Linked DNA regions of Homo sapiens: region 2 is linked to region 1. Evidence: promoter capture Hi-C in 16 types of primary human blood cells and fetal thymus (Javierre and others, 2016). All regions are on one chromosome and are shown on one strand. Each heading gives the region's core, a stretch centred on a gene start or on the middle of the fragment in contact. The rest is flanking DNA. Distances are from core to core; before and after follow the strand shown. Region 1 holds the start of GINS4 (GINS complex subunit 4). Region 2 has its middle 130 kb from the start of MIR548AO.

The links. The method cuts DNA at HindIII sites, captures the fragments that hold promoters and counts their contacts. A CHiCAGO score of 5 or more calls a contact.
Region 2: a fragment that was not itself captured here is called in contact with the fragment with the promoter of GINS4 in region 1 in 1 of 17 cell types (endothelial precursors); the score reaches 5.9 in endothelial precursors.

The regions. Positions count from the first base shown.
Region 1 is chr8:41,526,809-41,533,508 of GRCh38, forward strand. GINS4 (GINS complex subunit 4) reads left to right here and starts at 2,453. Exons shown (of 8, transcript NM_032336.3): 1 at 2,453-2,588; 2 at 3,376-3,490. The coding sequence starts at 3,395. RefSeq lists a silencer at 1,999-2,428. The HindIII fragment of the contact is 13,395 bases long and covers 1-6,700 here.
Region 2 is chr8:41,137,577-41,144,651 of GRCh38, forward strand. No RefSeq gene overlaps it. Among named protein-coding and RNA genes, the nearest start is that of MIR548AO, 130 kb to the right of the region's middle. The HindIII fragment of the contact is 4,498 bases long and covers 2,718-7,075 here.

The sequences.
Region 1 (6,700 bases), core at 1,203-3,702:
GTTCCTCCAGTAAGGCTCCCCATCTCTGCCTGGCATCTTCATATCGACTCTCTTGCACATCGACTGCAGGCTAGCCAGACTTCTTCCACGTCAGCCCACAGCTCTCAAGAGATGGGGCTCCAGAAAAAAGAGCCAAGTGGAAGCCACATTGCCTTTTATGACTTAGTCCCAGAAGCCAAGCAGCATCACTTCTGCCAAATTCTCTTGGTCAAAGCAGTTAAAAAACTCTTTCCTGATGTAAAAGGCAAGAACAGGGCCAGGCGCTGTGGCTCACACCTGTAATCCCAGCACTTTGGGAGGCTGAGGTGAGCAGATCACTTGAGCCCGAGTTCAAGACCAGCCTGAGCAACATGATGAAACCCCACCTCTACCAAAAATACAAAAAATTAGCCAGGCATGGTACACACCTGTAGTCCCAGCTACTCATGGGGGCTGAAGTGGGAGGATCACCTGAGCCCAGGAAGGTCAAGGGTGCAATGAGCCGTGACCGCCCCACTGCACTCCAGGCTGCGCGACAGAGTGAGGCCCTGTCTCTAAATAAATAAATAGAAGGTGAGAACATAGACCCCACCTCTTGATGGAGGAGTGTCAATGTCACATGGTAAGAAGGGTATGTGGGGTGAGATCCATATTAGAGCAGCTATGTTTGGGAAACACACTCTGCCACAACCAAAAACCACTGGATTACCAAACCGTTGAAACAGACCTTGAAATAACCACCTATTTGCCACTCACAAAATTCATTTCATAAGACACAGCTCAAATGTCCCTTCCTTTTGGGAATCCCGTGCTGATATGCCCCAGCTTACACAGCGCTTTGTAAAGATGCCTACTCTCTCACTCGGCTTATTCTATTGTCATTTTCATAACAGGATTGTAATCAGGCAGGTACGATCATACTATATTAGCCAATCATTTTACTAGTCAATCAATATGACATCATAGGGCAGCTTTGCAAAGAGCCCTCAGATTGATGGAGAAGAGATACTTTTAGGGAAGCCAGAAGCAACGCTTTGCACAGAAAACAAAGGACAGCAAAGAGAAAAGAATCAGCAACTCAGAGAAGAAAAACTGGATCACACAAAGATGGAAAAAATATATACATATACAGACATGGGTTTTTGTGCTTTTCCCCTCCAGAAGGTGAGTTGAAAGCATTGCCCCAAAGCAGTGATTCTCTTTTCTTTTTTCTTTTTTTTTCTTTTTTTTGAGATGGAGTCTGGCTCTGTCTCCCAGGCTGGAGTGCAGTGACGCCATCTTGGCTCACTGCAGGCTCCGCCTCCCGGGTTCACGCCATTCTCCCGCCTCAGCCTCCCGAGTAGCTGGGACTACAGGCGCCCGCCACCACGCCCGGCTAATTTTTTTGTATTTTTAGTAGAGACGGGGTTTCACCATGTTAGCCAGGATGGTCTCGATCTCCTGACCTCGTGATCCGCCCACCTCGGCCTCCCAAAGTGCTGGGATTACAGGCGTGAGCCACCGCGCCCGGCCCCAAAGCAGTGATTCTCAAACCTCAGCTGTGTCAGGGTCACCGGGAGGGCCTGGGTCTGGTGAAATACCCCCAGTTTCTGATTCGGTGGGCCAGGGTGGGGCCTGAGAACCTGCATTTTCACGGATTCCCAGGCGATGCTTCTGCTGGTCGTCCGATCCCAGGCTTCAAGAACCAGTACCCACTTTGTGAGGCCGAGGTGGGAGGATTGCTTGGATCCTTGAGTTCGAGACCAGCCTGGCCATCATAGGGAGAACCTCCCCACCCCCAACCCCGCCACAGTTCTTTTTTTTTTTTTTTTTAATTAAAAAATAACTGGGCGTGGTGGCGCTGGCCTGTGGTCCCAGCTACTCCGGAGGCTGAGGTGGGAGGATCGCTGGAGCCCGGGAGGCGGAGGTTGCAGTGAGCTGTGGTGGTGCCACTGCACTCCAGCCTGGGCACCAGAACGAGACCCTGTCTCAAGAAAGATGAAAAGGAATATACTGGAGATTCTGAAGGCAATGACCACACTGACCACAGGTGAAACCCCGCAAAGACGGAGGAACCCAAAGAGCCACGAGAGCTGTGGGTGGAGACGGCCCAGGAGGCTGCAGCGGCCTGCTTTCAACAGCATACTTCTGGGTGGGACCCCCCGGGGCGGACACCGCCGCTCCCCTTGGCCGCGGTGGCGGGCGCCCCCTCCCGACGCTCTTGGGTAGTGCAACCCGGACCGCACAGCGGAGCGGCCGGCCCCCAGGTGGGCGGGGCCAACCCGGACCAGCCTCCCGCCGCCTCAAGTCCTTGGGTTGCTGGGACTGCAGGCCGCCGCGAAGACAGTCCCCGCCCGCCGGGTGGGCGGGCCCAAGGAGACCGCCCCGCTCTTCCCCCCGGGCCTTGATTGGTCAGCGTCGCCCTTGCGCGATGACGTCGTGCCTGGGCGGAAACTTTGCGAGAGTAGCGCGGGAGCTGAGAAGTTGCAGGGTTGAGTTGGTCCCGGCAAGTCCTTGAGCAGTTTGTTCCTCTGTCTTCCCGCTTCCTGGTGCCCCGACTGCGTCCCCACGAACGCCCCGTCCTTACCGCCGGCTGCTGTGGAGTGCCTCGCTGTCTCCCAGGTCCCCGAGTGAGCGTCGAATGGGACCTCTGTGGCTAGGGCAGGCCTGTGTGGGTGGCACTGAGAGGGAGGAGGGGAGGGGGATGTTCGCAGTTTCCTTGCGACCCCAGGGACTTTCTTTGTCCCCGCCATCCACCTCCTTAGGCCTTTGGGATCGCCGACTGGTCTAATGTCGCCGGCCCTTGTGGCTCTGGGAAATTAGCATTGATTAATCTTCCTAACAATTTTTGTTTTTATAGAGACAGGATCTCCCTATGTTGCCCAGGCTGGTCTCGAACTCCTGGGCTCAAGGTATCTTCCTGCCTCGGCTTCCCAAAGTGCTGGGATTACAGGCGTGAGCCCGGCCAGCTCCTAATAATGTTAAGTGCTTGCTAGGAGTCAAGCGCTGTGCTGAGCGCAGGGGCTTCCCACGTCATTGCGTCCCCAGTGCTTAGTGCCAGGCACTGAGCAGAGGCGCGATTCGTATTTGAACTAAAACGAACCCCGTCCCTGAGGAACAAGACCTCTACTGGGAAGTCAAAGAAATGAATAGTGATTGTATGGTGTGATGGGTGCTCAGCTCTTGGTGGACAGAAGTAAGGGGGAGGCTTGTTTGAGAAACGGATACCTGACCTAAGCCTTGGAGGAAGAGGCAGACACTGGAAAACTAGAGTCCCTGCGTTCTCTCACCACTTGCTAAAGGGCCTCTACAACCCCAGGAAACCTCAATAAACCTTTCCTTTCTCCAGATAGATGTCTGTTCTTGCAGATAATTAGAAAACGCATTGCAGAGTATTGGTTCTTTCCCTCTCATTAGGTTCCTGGTTTCAGAGAAGATGACCGAAGAAGTGGATTTCCTGGGACAGGACTCTGATGGGGGTAGTGAGGAAGTGGTCCTAACTCCTGCAGAGCTCATTGAAAGATTGGAGCAGGTAAGCATCCCAGATCGAATCCCTTTGCTCCAGTCAGCCTTTTTATTTAGTTCAACTGTGAATATCAGGGATCACAAGATGAGGAAACGGAATTTGGGGCTTACTTTAGAACAGGGACTGGATCTTACCATCTACATGGAAACGGGAAGCAAGAAGGACATCCTCTGTTAGAGACCTCATCATATCAAACACAGCATCCCCAAGTGGGGTCAGTAAGGGACAGCTTTGGGCACATTCAGTGAACAGTTCACAGAGCAAGGATCCACGTGATATTTTCAGGGACTGTAGAGGTCCCTGAACTTCTTTACCTTAGTCCCTTGAACATCTGCTGTTTCCCTGGAGAATGCCTGTTTAGCAAGAAAATGCTGAAATGCCTGTAAGGGAAAACTGGTCATATTTTTCCTTTTTCTCACATGTTTTTTCTTGAGTCGTCTGCTCTCCATATGTCCACTGCTTATCTAAAATCCTTTCTGAAATATTTCTCCTTTAAGTTGTAATAGCTATGACTTACTGCATATTTCCCATGTGCCAGTAACTGTGTTCTTTACACTTATATCTCATGATGCTCTGGTAACAGGAGTTCAGACTATCTGGATTTAAATCTGTCTGTGACACTCCTCTGTTATGTGATCTTGAGCAAGTTAGGGAGTTTGTCTCAAGCCGTTGCTTGCCTATAAAATTGAGACAATAGGGCCGGGCACGGTGGCTCAAGCCTGTAATGCCAGCACTTTGGGAGGCTGAGGTGGGCGGATCACCTGAGGTCCAGGAGTTCGAGACCAGCCTTACCAACATGGTAAAATCCCGTCTCTACTAAAAAACAAAAATTAGCCGGATGTGGTGGCGCATGCCTGTAATCCCAGCTACTCGGGAGGCTAAGGCCGGAGGATCACCTGAACCTGGGAGGCAGAGGTTGTGGTGAGCCAAGATCCTACCCACCATTGCACTCCAGCCTGGGCAACAAGAGTGAAACTCCGTCTCAAAAAAATAATAAAATAAAATTGAGATGATAATAGTGTCTATGTCCTGGAGTTTTTGATTAAATGTGGTAATTGTGTAAAGCACTCAGCATGCTATCTGACACATGATAAGCACTCACTAGATGTGAGCTGTTCATAGTAAGTATCCTTATCCTCTTGCTCTAACTGCCCCTTTCCAGAGCTCTCTCATGTTTGCTACTTTAGTATTCTTCATTCTTCCCTGCCATACATGATATCACGAATGACAAAACGGAACTAAAATGATTTTTAAATTATACCTTACATGATAATCCTTACTATTTAGCAGTGATTCTTAATCTGTTTTTATATCACAGACCTTTTTGAGAAACTGGTAGAAACTGTGGTCTTTCATCCCACAATAACGCACACATGCACCCATGCAGAATTTTGCATATGACTTCCAGGGGATCAGAGATCCCCTGAAATCCACCCACAGACCTAGTTTGTGGAACAGCATTAAGAATTCCTGGTTCGTTAGGAAAGGGTTCATTAAACAAAAATCAAAAGGCACATAGCATAAAGGAAAAAAGGGATACATTCCTGGAGTGCAGTGGTGTGATCTTGGTTCACTTGCAGCCTCCACCTCCCAGGTTCAAGCGATTCTCCTGCATCAGCCTCCTGAGTAGCTGGGCCTACAGGTGTGCACCACCACGCCTGGCTACTTTTTGTATTTTTAGTAGAGATGGGGTTTCACCATATTGGGTTTCGCTGTGTTGGCCAGGCTGGTCTTGAACTCCTGACCTTGTGATCTGCCTGCCTTAGCCTCCCAAAGTGCTGGGATTACAGGCATGAGCCTCTGTGCCCAGCCTGTTTGTACTTCTGGATTAGAGTGAAAAGACAGGCCACCAGGCTGGGAGAAGATATTTGCAAAATACTAATATGTAGCTGACACAAGATGATTATCCACAGTACATAAACAGCTCTTTCATACTGCCCAGTACAGACTGATACCTCAGAGAAGAAGAAAACAGGATGACCAATAAGCATATGAAAAAGATGTTCAACCTTTTTAGTAATCAGGAAAATGAAAATCATGAGATATCATCTCATATCTATCAGATTGGAAGAACTGAAAAACGTGAGCAATATAAAGTATGGCAAGAATGTAGAGCAGCTGAGCGCAGTGGCTCATGCCTGTAGTTCTAGCAACTCAGGAAGCCCAAGTGGGAGGTTCATTTGAACCCAGGAGTTTGAGACCATCCTGAGGATCATAGCGAGATCTTATCCCAAAAAGAGAAAATTAAGAATATAGGGCAGGCCGGGTGCGGTGGCTCACACCTGTAATCCCAGCACTTTGGGAGACCGAGAGGGGCGGATCACCTGAAGTCAGGAGTTCAAGACCATCCTGGCCAACATGGCGAAACCCCGTCTCTACCAAAAATACAAAAATTAGCCAGGCTTGTTGGCATGCCTGTAATCCCAGCTACTCAGGAGGTTGAGGCAGGAGAATCTCTTGAACCCAGGAGGTGGAGATTGCAGAGAGCCGAGATCATGCCACTGCACTCCAGCCTGGGCAACAGAGCAAGACTCCATCTCAAAAAAAAAAAAAAAAAAATGAAGAGCAATTTGCACACTTATATACTGCCGTGGGATATAAATAGGTATAATCGCTTTGGAAAATAATTTGTTATTGTCTAGTAAAGATGAAGGTGCACATACCTGCGGCCCAGTAGTTCCACCCCCAGGTACATACCTAGTGAAAACTTCCGCATGTACTCTAGGAGACATCCACAGTATGTTCACACATTGCTTGCAATAGTTAAAAATTAAAATAACCTAGACAACCGTAAACAAATAGCATTGAGAAAATATACCATACACAGTGGGAATAAAACAGCAGTGAAAATGAGTAAAATAACTCCTGAAACAGCATGAATAACAGGAACTTAATGTAGAACAATAACAACCATAAAATATGAGCTGCCAAAGAAACACTTTATGTAAAGTTCAAACTTGCAAAATTATTGTTCAAGGCAGAGCCGCCACCCTTGGGTGATGTGGCACACTGCTATGCCACAGATGCCTCTGTGTGGACCCCTGCACCTTCCAGGACAGCTGGAGCCCCAGGCTGGTTACTTTTTCAAGTGAGCATCATCGGGGTCCTTGAAAGGCAGCTAGAGGATGGGGCGGCGGGGGTTCTGACAGCACAGCTGCAGCTTGCTGGTGGGTAAGCTGCAGTAACATCTCATGCCTGATGCTCTAGTGCAGTGCC
Region 2 (7,075 bases), core at 3,717-6,216, 390 kb before region 1:
AGTTTTTTAAGACTTTCTGGGTAGACTTCCCCAAACTTTCCTACTTTCATAAGCCAAGCCACATAGGATTAGACCCATCATTTTTCAGCTATATGCTAGCCATGATTTTCTCAAGTGGATGATCAGAAGAACGGAGAGGTGAGGTCAGGGGTGGGGAGTGGGGTGGGGAATAACAGGGGAACAGGAGGGTTTGCTCAAGTAAGAGGTGAAGGTTACTGGGTGACTCAGAGGCTTGGGCCTTCCTTAATATTGATGACCTTCCCGCCTCCCACCATCGTATTAGAAAAAGACAAAACATAATCTGTTATCACAGAAAAAACCTCAGTGATTAATATTGTGAATATATATCTGCTTTTACTTATTGCCAACAGATTAGCAAGACACCCTTGATCCAATTTTATAGCATTTTGGAACCAGTAGGTATCTAGGGACTTAGGCAATCTGGCCCTCTAATTTTACAGACAAAGGCACTGAGGTCCATATGTTACCCAAGTTGACCAAGCAAAAATTATAATTCAGTCCCATCTCCTAGAACCATATGCCTTTATCTTTGTTGCAAGTTTTTTTTTTAATTTGCTACATTTTCCTACATTGTTTGTTGTAGCAGAATATGGTTAGTAACACAGGCAAATGATTATTGACAAGCACAACATGTGCTTATTAGCCGCATGTCATTGCTTCACTAGGGTTTCCCCAGAGCAGCCTCAGAGACAAATTGATGGGGAGGTGAACTCAGGAAGCAGAGGAGGGAATGGGGAAGGGAGACAGGGAAGGGAAGTAAGTCCCCAAGGTGGAGCTAATGGGCAGTTTTCTGGGTGGACCAGTGGGGCTTTATCCAACTGGGCAAATCTCAGATTTGTCCCATGGAGAGCAAGGCAGCGGGGTCAGTTACTTGCCAGCTTCTCTCCTGTATCACTGGAGGGCTGCTGTGGTTCCTTAGCTGTGACGTCCCAAAACAGAGGGGCCACGAGGGAAGCTGGGATATGTGGAAACTGTCTGCAAGGCAGCCTCCAAGTTAGGTCTAAGGGCATCTACAGACTTTCCTCTTGCCACTCTCCTGGAGTGTGGGAAATGCGAAGCCTGATAAGGCATAATGCCTGATTTCAGATCCCACAACCAGGAGGGCCCTAGAAATCATCTAGGCCAGAGGTCTGCAAAGATTTTCTGCAAAGGGCCAGAGAGTAAATATTTTAAGTTTCATGGATCGTCTGTCCTCTGCTGGGAGAACCAACTCTGCCATCGTAGTATAAAAAGTAGCCGCAGATAAGATGTAAAACATTGAGCATGGCTGTGCTCCAATCAAACTTTATTTACAAAAACAGGGTGAGGTGTTGGATTTGGCCCCAAGACCATAGTGTGCTGATCCCTGATTAGACAACCCTTTTTATTTTAGCATGAAGAAAATTGAGACCCACAGAGCTTCTCAGGGCCACGGTTCAGGACTTTGTGGTGGTGTCAGAGCTGGGAGGATCAAATCAAGTCTGGCTTTCAGTCCAGAGCACTTTCCACTCTGCCCCATCCAGTCTTCTCCCAGTAGGGGCTTTTCTTTGACTGCTACCCACCCTGCACTGACCTCCTGGACATACAGAGGAGGGACAGCCAGAGGAGTGTGCAGGAGCCCCTGCTTTAGAGGCTGTGCATCTTGGATTTCCCAGATCTTGCCATCTGCAGAGATACTCCTTATTCCACCTGGATCCCTTCCTGCCTCAGCTGTGCCCATTTTCTACCTCTTCTAAGTTAAAATCCTAGCACTTTGGGAGGCCAAGGTGGGCAGATCACTTGAAGTCAGGAGTTCTAAGTGAAAATCAACCTGGTATTGATCTATGAAAGTTTTCAGAAAACTCAGAAGGCCACCAGGGATTCATCCATGCCAGTGATGCTGTGTATAAAGCCAGGTACACAACATGTGTGAGACCCCACCTCTCTCTTACAACATATATTATTAAAAGTTTCTTTCCGAATTCTAGCCAAGCATTTATGGTCAGGACAAGCAAATAATTAGGAATAACATGCTTACTTTCTTCTCCTCTTTTTTTCTCACCCTGTGCACCCAACACACACACAGACACACACACACATACACACACACAGACACACAGACACACACACACACACACACACATGTGCATGCATGCACATGCATCAGTAGAGGAACCAAACAGAAAAGAATACAGAACGGAATAGTGTTCTCCTCAGACCGAGTGAAATTAACTCTAGTGTAAATGACTTTGTAGAGTCAGGAGAGCAGGGTCTGAACCCACACTTTTCCATGTGTTTGCTGTTTAACACTGAACAAATGACATAACTTCCCTGATTCCCCCAGTCTTCTTATTTCAAACTCGGTAACACTGCATGCCTCATGGGTTTGTTGTGCAATAAATGTGAAATCACATGACCTCTGGGAGGCTGTTACCAGGCCAAGTCCATAGCAGGCACTCCACGAACAATGGGTTGCTCTCCCTGACCACAAGGAGGATGTGATTCCATGTGTTCCCTGCTTCTCCCCTGCCTAAAACTCCTGCCTAGTTTTCTTTCTTTCTCTCTCTCTCTCTCTCTCTCTCACACACACACACACACACACATGCTCTTTGTCACATTCAGACACTTATTTCTGGCTTCTATCCGGTGGTTGCACACCCTCCCAACATCGCGAATCTTGGAGACACTAACCAGGATGTGCTGCCACCCGCTCTGTTCCCTGTGCAGAGTGGCAGGAAAGCTTGACCTGGGCACCTGAGCTCGGTGTGTCTGTGCATGGGGGGAGTGGGACAGCACAGGACAGGGCAAGGGGCACCATCTCTTTTTCCTCTTCTGAAATCACTGGAAGTAAATTTCAAATTTTTGTCTTAACAATATCCTGAGAGCCCTGTGATTAATGCTGAGCATGCTTTTGAGATGGCCTTGCTTGAGCCAGTTCAGGTTTTACACAGGTAGGTTTTCAGTCTGAAAGGACTCAGGACTCTTTCCTGGTTTCAAATTGCTGTTTCAACCAATGGAACCAACCAGAACTTACATCCTGCTATCCCAAACCCTGGGGAGTGAGAGCCGCACGGGGCAGGCTTTCTTTATTCCTTTGTGTTGCTATAAAGAAATACCTGAAGTTGGGTAATTTATAAAGGAAGAAGGTTTATTTGCTCATGATGATGCTGGCTGGAAGACTGGGCATCTGGGGAGGGCCTTAGGCTTCTTACACTCCTGATGGAAGGGGAAGGGGAGCTGGCACATGCAGAGATCACAGGGCAAGAGAGGAAGCAGGAGAGGAGAGGGGGCCCAGCTCTTCCTAACAACCAGCTCTTGCAGGAACTAGAATGAAAATGCACTCATCCCCCAGGAAGGGGATTAATCTATTCATCAGTGATCTGCCCCCTGACCCAAATGCTTTGCACTAGGCCCCACCTTCAACATGGGGATTAAATTTCAACAGAAGTGTGAGGGGACAAACATCCAAATGACACAAACATCCAAACCACAGCACTGCCCACAGCCTCTCTCATTAGTGGAGGGGAGATGAGTTGCCTACAATAGGAAAGGCCTGTGGAAATCTCCTCTGAAAACACAATGTAAGCCTTTTTAAAAATTATTATTTATTTTTATTTAGAGACAGGGTCTCACTTTGTTGCTCAGGCTGGAGTGCAGTGGCACAATCACAGCTCACCGCAGCCTTGACTTCTTGGGCTCAAGAGATCCTCCTGCCTCAGCCTCCTGAGTAACTGAGACTACAAGTGCATATCACCACACCTGGCTAAATTTTGCTTATTTTTTGTAAAGACAGGGTCTCACTATGTTTCCCAGGCTGGTCTCAAATTCCTGGGCTCAAGCGACCCTCCTGCCTCAGCCTCTCAAAGTGCTGGGATTACAGGTGTGAGACACCGTGCCCGGCTAGTGTACACGGTTTGATGTGCACGCTGTGCTGGATCTCTTCTGCTTTGCCCTCTAGATGGAATTTCTATCCTCCACTCTGCCATGAGCTCCTGAAAACTGGACATGTGCACAACAGCAAGCCCACATAACTTCTGTCTTCCTGTTGAGTTCAGCCCAAGAAAGATCGGGAAATCTACTTCCTCATGCCCCTCCCAGGGGTACCGCTGCAAGCTGGCTGCAAGTCCTGCCGGGCTGGTTCTGATACTGTCCCCTGCCCTTGTTCCTTAAGCCCAGTGGGGGTAAGACCTCCCCAGTTCCAGTCCTGTGTTCTTCACTATACTTCGTGGCCAGCCTACACTCTTCCCACACCTTTGTAAAAAGCCCTTGTGTTAAACACCCTCTCAAATCTCCCGGTTCCAGCATGCCATCTGTTTCCTGCAGGGACCCTGGCTGATCAGGTACAGCACATGGCAGAGGAATGTTCAAGACTGGAGGTCTGCGGGGAACAGACCATCTCCCGGCAGGTTCAACAGGGGATGCTGCATCAGGCCCAGAGGACAGGGTCTGAAGATGCTGGAAGAAGGGGATGAAGAGGCTACATCCGGAGGCAGAGAGGATGGTGGTATGATGGGGATGGGGTGTGGCCACTTCAAATCCTCTGCCCCAACATTAGCAAGAGGGAGAAGCTCAGGACATCAGTCCAGGTTCTGGGAGAGCACCAGGGACACCTGCAGTCCAAATGAGGAAAGCGTCGCCCCCACTGGCCAGCTGTCACCACAGAGCCAAATGGGGAAATCAATCAGGATTATGATTATGGGATACAGGTTGGGGATGCTCTAAAAAGAGCCCCCAGCGTTCACGACAGTTTTCCAGTCAATCTGAACACAGGTAGAGCAGCCAGTGAAAGGTTGCAGCTCTTCCCAAAAGGATGTGGGGTCAGATTCGGAGCCTGGTGCCACTGACAAGTCCTGCCTTGCCTTTGGGGACAGATCCAAGGCCCTAGGACAAGAGCCAGAGGCTGAAGAAACTTGGAAGAAACAGCTGCCCGGCCTCAGGAAGAGGGCCCTTCTTTCTTGGTGGGTTGTCTGGGAAGAAAGCTAATGTTTTTGATTGTAGGCAAGCAGGGTACCAAAACTACATCCCTTGTCCCTTCCCTAGCACAAACAGAGAAACCTTGGAAAAGGAAGCCAGACACACAGCCAGTCTCCAAAGTGGGGCACACCATCTCCAAATGGATTACATGACCCATTGAGCAGCCTTCACCGTGGATTATTTAGGCACTGTTAAGAGTCAGGGCTCTATAAATTGGATGTAAAATGCATGCGGGTTTCCTGTAGTTTATCAAGCTGGTAACTCCCTAAAACCAGAACACAGAGCAAGAATATGCCAAAGAGCTGAAGAAGGAGGAGATGAAAACTTTCTAAAGTTAACGCTGGATTCAGAACCCAAGATTTAGCACCCTGCTCACCCAGCCCACGGGTATTTAGGGGAGGGCCCACTTGACCTTGGCCTCAAAGGCAGGAGATGTCGCCCCTGGTTATTTTTTATGGATTCATCATGCACAATTTACTTGTTTCCGCAGAGATTTATATTTTTAATCTGGACTGACTCTTGCGCTCTCTAAATTTACTACCTTGGAAACAACAGTACTTCCTTTTGTTTATTCTACACTGTACTTCTTTCAAGCCGTGAAGAGTGTTCCTGAACTGGGTGTTCTGGAAAAGCTCCCTCCGGCTATTCCCACTCATCAGTTTAGTAGGCTTTGGTCATATTTGCTTTGAGTTTCATCCATCCAGCCCACCTGTATTTATTGAGCACTTACTATGTGCCCTGAATTGGGCATCTCTGCCTCCACTACACTCATTTTTTTGGTTCTTTTGATTGTTCTTCACTCTTTTCTTTCTTCACTTACCCATCTAAATAATTTCACTGGGCGAGGTGCAGTAGCTCATGCCTGTAATCCCAGCACCTTGGGAGGCCAGGGAGAGAGAATCACTTGAAGCCAGGAAATTGAGACCAGGCTGAGTAAGAAAATGAGATGCCATCTCTACAAAAAAAAAGAAAAAATTAGCTAGGCATAGTGGTGCGCTGGTAGTCACAGCTACTTGGGATGCTTCTGAGGAAGGATCGCATGAGCCTGGGAGGTCAAGGCTGCAGTGAGCTGTGACCATGCCACTGCACTCCAGCCTGGGTGGCGCGGTGAGACCCTTTCCCTAATAATAATAGTAATGATGATAGCTTCACTGACCTGCAAAAATTAAATAAGCATATCACCATTTTCTTTTCACAAAAGAGGGAACCAAGGTGCAGAGATATTTCATTCTCAAGAACTACTGCAAAGCTGCAGTCTCATCTGAAGGAGATGAGTGTTGAAGTTTGCAGACTTGGGTTCAAATTCTGGCTCTACTGCTTACCAGCCAGGTGACCTTGGGTATGTTGAGGAACTGCCCTGAGCCTTAATCTCCTCATCTGTAGAATGGACGTCATATCACTTCTCTCAAAAGATTCTGAAGAATTAAATAAGAAAAAAAAAAAAAGAATTAAATAAGAAAACACTTGCATGTGACATAGGAGCAGTTCTTCATATGAATCCAGGCCACTTGTTTGCAGAAACATGGCCCTTCCACTACAAGAAGGCATAAGACTACAGAGGCAGGACAGGGACAGGAAGGCAAGAGTTAGATTCATTGATTTCCTGACATCCTGCACATTATGAGAAGGAAACAAAATTAACCAAATGCCAAGCACAGCTTTCCCCTAAAGTGGGAGTGTCAGCATCCTCTCTCTCCCTGGCCAACGTCTTCCTTCAGAGGGATGTCATGCAGAGAACAAGGAACCAGAGTCACGAACGGGCCGGGCCCTTGTTTCAAGTCATAAGTTAATGCCACCTTTGGCTGGTTGCCATTTTGTGAAATTGTAGGAAGATGTGTCAGTCTTTCAGTGTTTGATCGCTCTCTAACCTAAGAAAGAATTTCCCTCTAGACCTGGACATGAATGTGAAGGCTGGGGGCATATTTGGTACCCAACTGAGAATAGAACTCTTGCTAAGCAAGAAAGACTCAAAGCCCTTGAGAAAGATTCATGGCGAGGACTGTGCAGAGGAAACCGACTGTTTAAGGACACCTTCCAGGTCTGTGTGGGTCCAGGGCAGGAGCCGCAGAGGGGCAGACCCCCAAGGTGATCAGAGCACTTGATTGTGGCAAGGAAGGGCATG